2 separate regions of the Homo sapiens genome follow, and region 1 is linked to region 2. Evidence: promoter capture Hi-C in 16 types of primary human blood cells and fetal thymus (Javierre and others, 2016). All regions are on one chromosome and are shown on one strand. The core of a region is centred on a gene start or on the middle of the fragment in contact, and the rest is flanking DNA. Distances in the headings are between cores, read along the strand shown. Region 1 overlaps ZNF496-DT (ZNF496 divergent transcript). Region 2 holds the start of ZNF669 (zinc finger protein 669).

Region 1 (7,234 bases), core at 951-3,450, 260 kb before region 2:
AATTTTTTCCATCAGATACCCTAAACCATCTCTCTCAAGTTCAAAGTTCCACAAATCTCTAGGGCAGGGGCAAAGTGCCTTCATTCTCTTTGCTAAAACATAACAAGAGTCAGCCAGACTCGGTGGCTCACGCCTGTAATCCCTGCACTTTGGGAGGCCAACGTGGGTGGATCACCTGAGGTCAGGAGTTTGAAAACAGCCTGGCTAACATGGCAAAACACAGTCTCTACTAAAAATAGAAAAATTAGCGGGGAATGGTGGCGCACACCTGTAATCCCAGGTACTCGGGAGGCAGAGGCAGGAGAATTGCTTGAACTTAGGAGGCGGAGGTTGCAGTGAGCCGAGATGGCACCACTGCACTCCAGTCTGGGCAACAGCCAGTTCCCAACAAGTTCCTCATCTCCATCTGAGACCACATCAGCCTAGACCTTATTGTTCATATCACTATCAGTACTTTCGTCAAAGCCATTCAACAAGTCTCTAGGTAGTTCCAAACTTTCCCACATTTTCCTGCTTCTTCTGAGCCCTCCAACCTCTGCCTGTTACCCAGTTCCAAAGTTGCTTCCACATTTTCAGGCATCTTTTCAGCAATGCCCCCCTCTACTGGTACCAATTTACTATATTAGTCTGTTTTCATGCTGCTTACAAAGACATACCCGAGACTGAGAAGAAAAAGAGATTTAATAGGACTTACAGTTCCGCATGGTTGGGGAGGCCTCAGAATCATGGCGGAGGGCGAAAGGCATGTCTTCCATGGCGGCGGCAAGAGAAAATGAGGAAGAAACAGAAGCAGAAACCCCTGATAAACCCATCAGATCCCATGAGACTTATTCACTATCATGAGAATAGCATGGGAAAGACCAGCCCCCTATGATTCAATTACCTCCCCCTGGGTCCCTCCCACAATACGTGGGAAATCTGGGGGATACAATTCAAGTGGAGATTTGGGTGGGGGCACAGCCAAACCACATCACCAGTCTAAAAAGACTGGGAACCCCCTGACAAGTAAGATACTAAGCAGCACACTCTGCTCTGAATGTGCCGAGCACTCAAGGTCATTTGTATTAAGTCCCATACATAAGGGACTTTTGTCATGGCAATGCTTGTTTGTCCCTGTTAGTCCTGGGAAAGTCCAATCACAGGAGTTATCACAGATTAACAGGTCTGTGGCTGGCAGCCTCTCACAAATTTGTGGGATACTTAAGGCACCCCATGAGTAAACACCATCCTTAGCTGTCTATGGCAGCAAGCCTCTTGCTAGCTTAGCCTATTTCTTTTTTGAGACAGAGTCTCGCTCTGTCACCAGGCTGGAGTGCAGTGGCATGATCTCGGCTCACTGCAACCTCTGCCTCCCAGGTTCAAGTGATTCTCCTGCCTCAATCTCCTAAGTAGCTGGGATTACAGGCATGCGCCACCACATCTGGCTAATTTTTTGTTATTTTCAGTAGAGATGGGGTTTCACCATGTTGGCCAGGCTGGTCTTGAACTCCTGACCTCAGGTGACCTACCTGCCTCAGCCTCCCAAAGTGCTAGGATACAGGTGTGAGCCACCAGGCCCGGCTATCTTAGCCTATTTCTGAGAATGTGTTTTTTGGGAAGGATCATAGGAGGGGGTGCATCTTCTGCACTCATTTTATTTTATTTATTTTATTTTATTTTTTGAGATAGAGTCTCGCTCTGTCTCCCAGGCTGGAGTGCAGTGGCATGATCTCGGCTCACTGTAAACTCCGCCTCCTGGGTTCACGCCATTCTCCTGCCTCAGCCTCCCGAGTAGCTGGGACTACAGGCGCCTGCCACCATGCCCAGCTGATTTTTTGTACTTTTAGTAGAGATGGGGTTTCACCATGTTAGCCAATATGGTCTCGATCTCCTGACCTTGTGATCCGCCTGCTTCGGCCTCCCAAATTGCTGGGATTACAGGCGTGAGCCACCGCACCCGGCCCATTCATTTTAAATACACCACAAACACCTATGCTCTTCTAAACCTGGAAAGCTACCTCCAGAACTTTCCATAAAAAAATGATTATTGGTTTGAGTCACTTATGGAATAAATAAATTGGCTGGAATCAACCTAGGTGCCCATCAACAGTGGATTGGATAAAATGTGGTACGTATACACTACGGAATACGACACAGCCATAAAAAGCAACAAAACTGTGTTCTTTGCAGCAATGTGGATGCAGCTGGAGGCCATTATCTTAAGTGAACTAACGCAGAAACAGAAAATCAAATACTGCATGTTCTCACATTTTTTTTCTTTTTTTTGAGACGGAGTTTCACTCTTGTTACCCAGGCTGGAGTACAATGGTGTGATCTCGGCTCACTGCAACCTCGGCCTCCCAGGTTCAAGTGATTCTCCTGCCTCAGCCTCCCAACTAGCTGGGACTACAGGCATGCGCCACTACGCCTGGCTAGTTTTGTATTTTTAGTAGAGACAAGGTTTCTCCATGTTGGTCAGGCTGGTCTTGAACTCCCAATCTCAGGTGATCCGCCTGCCTTTGCCTCCCAAAGTGCTGGGATTACAGGCGTGAGCCACCGCACCCGGCCACATTCTCACTTATAAGCGGAAGCTAAACGTTGGATACACATGGACATAAAGATGGAAACAATAGTCACTGGGACCTGCTAGAGCAGGGAGAGTAGGAAAGTAGGAGAGTGAGAGAGGGGAGAGGAGAAGGGGAGAGTGAGAGAGGGGGAGAGGAGAAGGGGAGAGAGAGAGAGGGGGAGAGGAGAAGGGGAGAGTGAGAGAGGGGAGAGGAGAAGGGGAGAGTGAGAGAGGGGAGAGGAGAAGGGGAGAGTGAGAGAGGGGGAGAGGAGAAGGGGAGAGAGAGAGAGGGGGAGAGGAGAAGGGGAGAGGTGGAGGGAGAGGGGGACAAGAGTTGAAAAAGTACCTATCGGGTACTATCCTCACTACCTGGGTGAAAGGATGCTTTGCACCCCAAACCTCAGCATCATGCAATATACCCATGTAACAAATCCACACATGTATCCCCTGAATCTAAAATAAAAGTTGAAATTTTGAAAAAACATAATAAATAAGTTAAAAAGTTATATTTTAAAAGAAAACTTTTTAGAGAGCTCTTGTCTCTTTTTTTTTTTTTTTTGAGACAAGGTCTCACTCTGTCGCCCAGGCTGGACTGCAGTGGCGCAATCTCTGCTCACTGCAACTTCAGCCTCCCGGGTTCAAGCAATTCTCCTGCCTCAGCCTCCCCAGTGGCTGAGATTACAGGTGCGCACCACTATGCCCAGGTAATTTTTTTTTTTTTTTTTTTGTATTTTTAGTGGAGACAGGGTTTCACCATCTTGGCTAGCTGGCCTCGAACTGCTGACCTCAGGTGATCCATCTGCCTCAGCCTCCCAAAGTGCTGGGATTACAGATGTGAGCCACCGCGCCCGGCCACTAAGAGCTCTTGTCTTAAACAGCTTTCTTATTGGTACCTATGAAAAGACACAAAAGGAATATATAGCCTTAGAAACTCCCTTAGCAGGATTTCTTTTTTTAAGGCAGAAATCAGATTTACAACTAAGTTATAAATCCTTTGTGTAGCTGGATTCACTGATTTATGCCTGTAATCCCAACACTTCGGGAGGTCAAGGAAGGCTTGCTTGAGCCTAGGAGTTTGAGAACAGACTGGGCAACATAGGGAGATCCCATCTCTACAAAATAAATAAACAAATAAATGAGTCAGGCATCGTGACACACGCCTGTGGTCCCAGCTACTCAGCCAGGGGTAGGCAGGAGGACTGCTTGAGCCTAGGAGGTTGAGGCTGCAGTAAACCATGAGCACACCACACTGCACGCCAGCCTGGGTGACAGAACGAGACTTTGTCTCAAACAAATATATATATATGATATAAAAAATATATATTTCTAACATGTATATGTTATATATGTATAATATATATCACATATAATATATATGTCACATATATAATATATATATCACATATATAATATATATGTCACATATATAATATATATGTCACATATATATATATATATATATATATATATATATATATATATATATATAGTGCGCCCAAGCTGCCTGTTTTGGATCCCCCTGGGATTTACAAAGAAGACGGGCCACCCTAATCTAGGGCCTGGGTTCCATGCTTTCACCACCACAGCCTGGATTTGATTCCCAGTCAGGAAACCAGACTCTTGGAAATGCAAATCTTTTAACTCAGGACAAAACAAATAGAAACATTTGTAAAAAGTTAGTTTGGTATTTGCATAACTCTGACCTTTTGGGGTACCCTTTCACTTTGCAATCCTGTCTATTCCCACAGACAGCTTTTGACTTCCCATCTTACAAACTGCCATGCAATCTTCCGTCTGTGGGAGATACGGGTTGTCAGGCCTTTGTGTGCAGTCAGCCAGCTGAGAGGCTGAAACCCTAGATAATATGGCCAGACAGTAGCCCCATTTGCAGCTACTAAAATTCTCCTTTATTTGAGCTGCCTGGAGTGGTCTGGATCTGAGCAGGGTTGCAACTTTTGCCTCCTCTCTGGAGACCTTGGTGAAAGCCGTGAAAGGCTTCTTGGTTCTGGTCTCCTTGGTGCTTATTTCACTTGGCGTTGAGTCATTTGTTCAGGTATACCTTTGATAGAAAACTGGTTTGTATTTAGAGTGTGATAGCAACTTTTTTCTTTTGTCTCGCTTCCTCCCGTGGGCAGAAGAGACGTGTGTCTCCCACCACTGCTGGGAAGCTGAAGAGAGGCAGGGCTCCTCCCATGAGCAGAGCGGGTGGGAGCGCTCCACAGCCGAAATTCTTTCCACTCCAGTGTTAGGCCACGTGCTCATGAAACAGAAAGCTTGCTGCTTGTGTATTTTCAACACACCCTTCTGCTTTTTCTTTTTTCTTTTAGTTTTTGGGGGATTTTTCCCTGGCAGATATATAGAGCAATGCTTTTTCTCTTTGGATCCTGTTCCTACCCTGGGAATTCTTTTCAGTCAACTGAAATTTTGTTAAAAAGCAATTTTATGTTCCTTCCATCTGTTCACTTTTTTGTTGTTGTTGTTGTCGGCATGATTTTTACTGAGAAAAATGTAAAACATCCTTGGCCTTTTTGGGAAGTTTAAAATCTTCCCAAATTGAGCCCTCTAAGAATTGTTTTCCCATTTACTGTTGGCCCTTCTTCCTTTCTGCCACCTTCAATAACACACGAAGAAATCAAGAGGGAACTTCTAGCAGTCCTGAGACCCCTTGAGAAACCAGAAAAAGGTGCCATACACCCTCCTTTTGGGGGTCTTTTGTCTTCCTCACGGAGCCCCAAGGGTCATGGGCAGGTTACTCTCAAGTCTAAAGCGCCGCAGTCTTTTGCATTGAGTTCCCTGATATTTTCATTTTTTTGAGACACAGTCTGTCTCTGTCACCTAGGCAGGGGTGCAGTGGTGCATTTGTGAGAAACACACTCACCCATCCAAACCCAAAGAATGGACTTAGAGGCACAAAGAACAGCGAAAGGGAGACTTTTCATAACGGTCTTGCGAGATCGGGTGTCTGGTGAGCAGGCACAACCAGGGCGGTCACAACGGGTAATTTATGTCCTAGCACACAAGTCCCTCCCCCAGTTCCTCACTGGTTGAGTACTGTGGGGTTACAATCTTCCCGGACATCGCCTAACTTTCATTATCCCCCTTACAAAGTTATACCCCGTCCTCTTCCCCACTTAAGTTTTGATTTCCCCATAACAAAACTTTCTTCCCTTTTATGAGCTGACCACACCTCTACATTCTGTCCACTTACTGTGACCTTCTGGGTGCATGAGCCATGTGGTTTCTTACATTTGCAGGCTGGCTGCCAGTGCTTAGACTTATCATGCCTTGCAAATGGACCATTTAAAAGGTTTTCTCACCAATTCCCTCCTCTTTTCTATTTACTTATTTTGTTCTCATTTTCTTTTAAACCCTTTTGGGCCGTGAATCGCTCCAGAAGTTGTTTACTTTCTTCCTCATAGGAGAGTGAGTTTAATTTGCTTTCTAATAGTGGCAGGTTATTTTGCTGGTAAGTCATGGGCATTTGTTTATTAATAGCTGTTTTAATTAATTTCTGTGCTAGTCCCCTCACACAAGGGATAATACAACATTCCACTGCTATTAAGAATCCTGCCACAATTATGAGAGATATAAGGATTGAAGCTACCATTCCTTTCCATTTTCCAAATCAGCCTTCTAGCCAACCCGTAAATGGGTCATTAATTCCGAGCATTTCTTCCAGTTCGTTGGCTAGAGTTGTTAGTCCTTGTAAAGCTTTTGTGATGGTCCCATTTGGGGCAGTATTGCTGGGAATGAAAGTACAAAATTTCCCGCCCAGCATAACACACACGCTCCCTTTTTCTCTAGTATCATGTCTAGCGCAAGTCTGTTTTCCCAGGCCATTTAGCTGGTGGCATCTAACTGGCTAGCCACCCTTTGAGGGCATCCCAAGTATAATTGATGAATTCCTGTTGATTATAATAGATGGAGTTAATTTAATTCGCATTCTTCTTAATAGTTGACCAGCAGAAGTGTCCTGACTTTAAACCCAGCACCTACTGCGTTTCAGGCCTTCAATTTATTAGGCAACCCTACCCCCACCAGGGTCTCCTATTGAGTCAACATACACATTGGGATTAAAAGAATTTGTGAAATCTCTCTGGTTTCAGTGGCCATGTGTATTTTGGGGTATCTTATGGGATGCCAGGGTGAAGGGAATGGCCAATGAGACTAAAGCACAAGTCCTGGTCCCATTGGACAGTAACAGGTTACGTAGGTTCCTTTTCCCATAATACTACCAGACATCAGCCCGGGGTGTATGGAGAGCTGAGTAATTGCCATTGCTCAACTCACCAGTGACGTTTAGGATGTGGGTACAAGTTGAGAGTTCTCCCATAGGCTTATGGAACTCTGCCCCCTGTCTAGAGAGGCAAGAGGAGTAGTTCATGTTCTCTGCAGAGAACGAGGGTATTGCTCTGGGATCTGAGCTCCGCAATGCAGGAAACAGCAATGAAAGACTCTTACAAGTCTTACTTCTCCTTACTTATATCATTGTGCTGGTATGCAGCCAACATGCAACACATTCCTCTAGAATCACTATTCCATCCCAGGGGAAACGGAACCACCTGCGCCTGAGGTGGTCCTGCAGCACACGCGTAGCAGTTACTTTTGCTGAGGGCTTGTACCGAAAATATGACCCATTTGACCCAGGCATTCACATCCCTATACCCTGTCTCAATTTCTAAGGTTTGC
Region 2 (6,724 bases), core at 3,857-6,356:
ATTTTTCCCACTGCCAACATAAAAGGAGGTTTAACACAACTCTGCAATGGGACCATCTGATTAGAGGTCATGGCTACAACAAATCGAAGTTTTTTACTATGGGTCTCTGTTTTACATTCTGCTTTCCAAATCCGAATTGGGCTTTGAGCCATCATTAATTTCCACAATTCTGGATGTTCTGGGCTTATAATTGGATCAATAATTTTTGGGCTTGGAGGAGCCATACCGTTCTCCTCCCACTTAATAGGGTAATTTGTTTCAATTCTTCTATGTAATTTTGGTGCATTATCTGGGTAGTCGTTTGCAAAATAGTCTCTCTACAATCTTCACTCTGTCCAGTACAATTTACTGCAAATTGTCCCCTAGGGGCCCAATCAATGATGATTCCATAGGAATTATTTTGTAGTACAGCAGCACTGTTTGCAATATAATCTTCCCAGGTTAGCACCTCTAGCTTTTCTGACCGTTTAATAACAGGAGGTTCTTATTAGGTTTAAATTTATTAATCTGGCGATGTGTCACAACATAGCCATGCTCAAGGTATTTAATAGTGTCCAAAGATTGAAATGTTCTTCCACTGATTGCATGAATAAAGGCTTTTGATCCGTTATGTGCAGGAACATAAACCATCCAACTTTGTGTATCATAATTTAAAAATCCTGCTGCTGGCCCCAGGCAGATGGCAGGAAAGCGATAACCAATAGAAACATTCATTAACATTCCTCCTCCTCCTCCTTCCTCCTATTACAAAAATAGGTGTAATTTTGATCTGCCTCTGCTACAGGAAGACTCACCACCAAGGAGATTACCGCCATCATAGCTACCATTAGATTACTGGTGGTCAGCGGCTTGTTCTGAGACCTCAGGTTCTCTTCTGCAATGTGAGCCAGTCTCTTCATCTGCCCCCAGGTCGGTGGAGTTGCTTGGGGAGTTTTACTGGTTTCCATCTGCTCAACAGAGATGTTCATCTGAGCCGTCTGACGAACTGGGGGCGCAGAGACATTCTGAGGTCTTTTCCTCTTCTTGGACTCTGTCTCATGGCACAGCTTAAGATGTCTTGTGGGTACCCAGACAGGAAGCTGATTCTCTCCTGGTGAAATACAAGCAAATCCTCAACCTCAACAAGACCCACTGGGGCCTTTTGTTTGGGCCAGTTTTTTGGCCATTGGTAAAGAGCTATGATCGACACATCTGCTCCTATGTTGACCAGACCCTCAAATTGTTTTCCTTGAATGGTGACCATACAAATAGGTCTATTGTCAGAGACTTGATTTACCCAATAGGCAGCCTTGCCTGCTGAATTTGTGCTTCCAAATCCTCCTATTCTTTTTTCTGAGCTTTCTCCTAACTTAACATACGGCAAAAGCAACAGTTGAGCTATTCTGTCACGTGGATTAGCACTCCAGGGAACAGTGGAGGAGATAACAATTTGAATTTCTCCGTAGCAATCAGAGTCCACTACTCCTGTATGTACTTGAATTCCCTTTAAGTTGGACCTTCCCAGTATAAGTCCCACCGTGCCATTTGGCAGTGGGCCATAAACTCCTTTTGGGACCTTCCTGGACTGCGGCTGGCTTCCCAAAGTGGGGAAGAGGGCTGGTTGAAACCTGCCTCAATCCATTTGGGAACACTCCATTTGGAGTCAGGGATGTCCCGTCCTGAATTGGGAATGCCCCGTTTTGAATTGGGGCCCGGTCCTGAGTTTTGCCTTTTTTGCCTCTTTGTACACTCTCTTTTTGTATGTCCTATCTGTCCACAATTATAGCAAGACCTGGGGAACACTCATGTGTTTTTTGTTACCCTTAGTCCAGCCATTGCCTGAGCAAGGAAGCTGGCCTTATATAAGTGCTCCCCAATGCCATCACAGGCTTTAATGTATTCACTTAAAGCTTTTTCCTCATTTAGATCTGCCTTTCCTTTAATAGGTCTAATTGCTGCCTGACATTCTGTATTAGCATTTTCATCAGCAAGCAGCTGAACGATCACTTTCCTGGCATGAAAATCTGAAATAGCCTTTTGAGCCGCATCTTACAAACGGGCAATAAAATCTGGATAAGGCTCCCTTGGACCCTGTCGAACTGAGTTAAAACACGGATAAGTTGTACCAGGGTTGTGAATTTTTTCCCAGGCTCTTAGGCATATAGTTCTGACCTGATCAACAACCTCATCACCCATTACCATTCTGTTGATTTAGAGTACCCCATGTGATTCCAAGCAATTGATCAGATGTGATATTAACGGGACGTTGGACTTGAGCATTTCTGCATGCCCGATTTGTTGCTTCATCTGTCCACCAGGTTTTAAATTGGAGAAATTCAGAGGGGGACGGAGTGGATTGGGCTAGTGCCTCCCAATCCATAGGTATTAAACGCCTGTTATAAGCCACAGATTGTAACAAGGAATGAACATAAGGAGAATTTGGCCCATATTGTCCAATTGCTTGCTTTAAGTATTTTAATATTTTAAAAGGAAGTGGCTGCCAGCATGCTTGAGCATGTTCTCTGGGCTCCTCAACTGGCGAATTAATTACCAGAAACTGCAAAGCATCCAAATCCCCCATTTCTCATGCCTGGCGAATGGATGACGGGATTGTCCCCGTGCCATAATTTGTATTTGGACCGGCTCGCAGCATTCCTCTACCACAATTAACAGGTGGTAGAGGATCATTCCCTGATCGTAATTGGCTGTTAGGCGAGCCTGAAGCTTCCCTTCGCCATAGTTATTGGTGGGGCCTGCAACAATGGGAGCGGCAAGCCGCGTCTCAGGCTCCAGTTCCAAAAATTTGTAAGGCTGAGCCGGGGGTGGCCATTCCAGACCTTCCCCTAAAGGCGAAGTAGGTGGCACTGTTTCTTTTATAAGTTTTTGGAGATTAGCATATATACCTTCCCGTTTCTCGGCCTTTTTAAAACTAGACTGTGATGGTTGATTTTGCTGATCATTAGACTCCTGATTATTAAAGTTTTCTATGTCATCCTGAAGCTCCTCCTCAGTGTGGAAGGGCTCCAGTGCTGTTTTAATTGCAGGCCACGCAGACCAAGCAAGAAGGGAATATCGTGGCCCTCTTGTTGTGCTCGTTTTAAGTCTGATCCGACCTTGTCCCAGTCTTTTACATTCATGGTTCCATATTCCGGGAACCAAAGAGAATACTTTTTTACCAGATAGAACAAAGATGGGAGATTTTGGGTACTCACAATTACCCCTCCGCGGCGCAGTAACTGCCGGACAAGGCTTCAGTAATTAGCAAACTTACTCTCAGCCTGACCCATAGTTTCCGGAGGTTACCCTGGAATTTTCCGAGCGCCCTACTTACCTGTAGAGCTTGAAGTGAAAACGTACTCGGGCGTCCTTTGTCAGTCATCCTCCACTTTCCACTCTCTGGCATTCCTTCACTGGATTATTTGTAGAGATTACCGGGAGCCCGGCGTTGGGCACCAGAGACCAGCCTGGGCAACTGAGGGAGACCCCATTTCTACGAAAAAAAAAAAAAAAAAATTAGGCAGGCGTGGTGTCCAGTGCCTGTAATCCCAGCTACTCCATGAGAGATTGGACAAAACCTGGGACCAGAGACTGATTTTCTTCTAAAATGCTTTCTCCAAAATATTTTTAAAAGAAAAGGGGGAAATTGGAAAGGAAAATGTTTTGAGCCCCCCAGATCACTAAGCTAAAGGGGAAAGTCAATCTGGGAACTGCTTAGGGCAAACCTGCCTCCCATTCTATTCAGAGTCATCCCCTGCTCACTGAGATGAATGCATATCTTATTGCCTCCTTTGGAAAGGCTAATCAGAAACTCAAAAGAATGCAACCGTTTGTCTCTCACCTACCTGTGACCTGGAAGCCCCCTCCTGGCTTCGAGTTGACCCGCTTTTGCTTCAGGTTGTCCCGGATCAAACCAGTGTTCATCTTACATATGTTGATTGATGTCTCCTGTTTCCCTAAAATGTATAAAGCTGTCAGATACAGTCAGTTTCTCTTCCAAGGTTTGGCATGTTAACTTTCTTGTTTTTTTGTTTTCGAACTCAACTTTCTTGTTCTCCATGCCTCCTTGCCCTTAGTTACTGTAAACAACCTTCCGTCAGTTCTAATCAATAACTCACATCTGTTCCCTTGGTTACCTGCTCTGCACCCATTTCTCCCTTGGAAACCGCAAGTCCCACCATTGTAACTCACATCCCCCTTCCCCCTTCCTTATTTGGGAAAATATTCACAAATAGCCAACCGGGTCAGTTTAGATCGTGCGGTCTGACCCCAGCCCATGCCAGAGGTAGGGACTGCGTTAGGAATAAAAACCCCTGCTTTCCTCTGTTCAGTGTGCTCTTGCGATCGTGATTGATGCGAGCAGCACGCTTCTGCAGAAGTAAATTGCGTTGCTGAGAAAACTTTCGCTTGAGTGCTGGTTTCACTTTGCGGCACCGAGCATTTCTCTCCAACAAAACCAAGCTGTGCTCTGACCACCTTGGGCACATGTCATCAAGGACATCCTGAGGCTGTGTCATGCATATGCATCCCCAACCTTGGCAAAATAAACGTTCTAAATACTCTTACCCCAAATGCTCAGGGAGACTGATTTGAATAATCATAAAACTCCAAGCCTGCACTCCAGCCTGGGAGACAGAGCAAGATTCTGTTTCAAAAAAATAAAATAAAATAAAAAAACTCCGGTCTCCCGCACAGAGGACACTGCGTGAATTACTCTTTCTCTATTGCTATTCCCCTGTCTTGAGAAATCGGCTCTGTCTAGGTAGCGGGCAAGGTGAACTCCCTGGGCAGTTACAGAACTGTCATTATATTGCTTCCAATTTTATATATATATATATATATAAAAGGCACAAATAGCTATAACTTGTATACAGGTTAAATGTGAATGTCCTTCTTGCATGGTCGGATCCCAGCGCAGGAAGGACGCACCGCCTACAAACCGCTAGGCCAAAAGCGGTCATTCTGACCTCATCCAGCCTCACGTGAGATCGCAATCTCCTGTCACTCAGGGCCTGAGGGGCGGGGCCTGAAGCCCCATCCAATCAGGGGCGCTGGGGTGGGGACCGTTCAATCAGGCGCGCCGCCGGAAAGGAGAGGGCGGCTTCCGGGATCTGCCTGGCGGTTGCTTTGTCTCTCCTTCGCCGGAGCCGGCTCTTCCTGTTAGTCTCCGCTGCTAGTTCTTGGCTCTGGGAGGCCCAGGTGGCTCTGCAGCAGCCTCTGCCACCCTGTGACCTGCGAGTATTGGGACATCCCTAGCTGACGCCAGGACACCCGGGAAGCCGAGGAATGGTGAGTGGACTGCGCCTGGCTTCCCGAAGTGGAGAAGAGGGCTGGTTGAAACCTGCTGTGGCGCGACTCGGGCCTCCACGCCATCGGCTCCGGAACCTGCGGACCGAGTCGCCGTGGCGTAGCCGGGGCTCAGTCCTCTTCTGTTCAGGGCCGGGCCGGGCGGGGCGGGCAGCGGAACCCCTGCATCCTGTCTGTACCTGCGGGCGCCACTTCCGCCGGCCGGAGCCCTGTCGGGAACCCCTCGCCTCCCCTATCCAGGTAGTGTGGTGACCACGGGAGGGTGATGCGGGAGAGCCCCGACTCGGTGTCTCGGTGTGCGGGGTTCCAGCATGGGAGGAGCTGTGGTTCATGGGGCTTCCAGTCCCACCTTTCTTCCCCTAAAATTAAGCCGAGGCTTTGTTAAAACGTTAAACCGTGTGTTTGAGCAAACGGCGATTCATAAACCAGGTACCGCAGTCATGGTTTGTGGTTTGGGGTCCACAGAAGGGGCGTAAATGAGAGGCTTTGATAAGGTTAATGAGGAAGCAAACCATATTCTTTTTTTTTTTTTTTTTTTTTTTTTTTGGAGACGGAATCTCGCCCTGTCGCCAGGCTGGAGTGCAATGATGCAGTCTCACTCATTGCAACCTCTGACTCCCGGGTTCAAGCGATTCTCCTGCCTCAGCCTCCCGAGTAGTTGGGATTACAGGCGCCCGCCACCACGCCCAGCTAATTTTTGTATTTTTGGTAGAGACAGGGTTTCGCCATGTTGGCTAGGTTGGTCTCGAACTCCTGACCTTAAGTGATCCGCCCGTCTCGGCCTCCTAAAGCGCTGAGATTACAGGCGTGAGCCACCGCGCTCGGCCAAAATATTTTTCTGTTTACAAACATTTTACATGAGAGGAAAGCGGAGAATAAACCATCTGACACTCTACTGTAAAAAAATCTTTGTGCCTCTCTTCATCTTTCCTAAGTGTGCATATTACCAAAATGTCTTTAGGTTGATGTCCCCCTGTGAAAACTTTACAGGGTGTTGTGTCCTCAGCCCTTGGTCTGCTTGCTCATCTCTCTGCTAATACTGTGCTGTCCTGAATATTTTTGGTTGAAAATCTTAAAAGTATGTTAGGCAAGACATAACTCTTTTTTTAGATGACTGAAAATCATTAGACATTTGTCATTTTTACTAGGTATGAAAAACTAGTTTTTCTTGCCTAAAAAAGCCTGATTTGGGAATTTATGTGATTTCACAGGAATAGCATCTGGAAGTGGTGACATTAATGTCATTTTAAAAAACATGTGCCATATTTCCTCTTATTCCATTCTGCCTTGACATTGTGCAATAGAAATTTAAAAATTGTATTAGTAAATTGTTAAATATCAATTATTGGTTTTATTTACTACTCAATTAAATTTAATAAGCCTATTCTCTCTTGGTGTAATCACATGGAATGGGCTCAACTCCCCAATTAACAAGTGACAG

What was found. Contacts are between HindIII fragments. The CHiCAGO score rates a contact against its expected background, and 5 or more counts as called.
Region 1: a contact is called between a fragment that was not itself captured here and the fragment with the promoter of ZNF669 in region 2, in 2 of 17 cell types (M2 macrophages and M0 macrophages). The highest score is 7.0, in M2 macrophages.

Annotation. Positions count from the first base shown.
Region 1 is chr1:247,358,744-247,365,977 of GRCh38, reverse strand. All of the region lies in intron 1 of ZNF496-DT (ZNF496 divergent transcript), which reads right to left. Among named protein-coding and RNA genes, the nearest start is that of ZNF496-DT, 30 kb to the right of the region's middle. RefSeq lists an enhancer at 2,800-3,344. The HindIII fragment of the contact is 5,240 bases long and covers 1-4,820 here.
Region 2 is chr1:247,102,738-247,109,461 of GRCh38, reverse strand. ZNF669 (zinc finger protein 669) reads left to right here and starts at 5,106. Exons shown (of 4, transcript NM_001142572.2): 1 at 5,106-5,265. The coding sequence starts at 5,263. It overlaps FLJ39095 (a long non-coding RNA gene), which reads right to left and starts at 4,951. Exons shown (of 3, transcript NR_147502.1): 1 at 3,822-4,951; 2 at 3,311-3,469; 3 at 1-1,090. RefSeq lists an enhancer at 4,861-5,155. The HindIII fragment of the contact is 5,762 bases long and covers 2,706-6,724 here.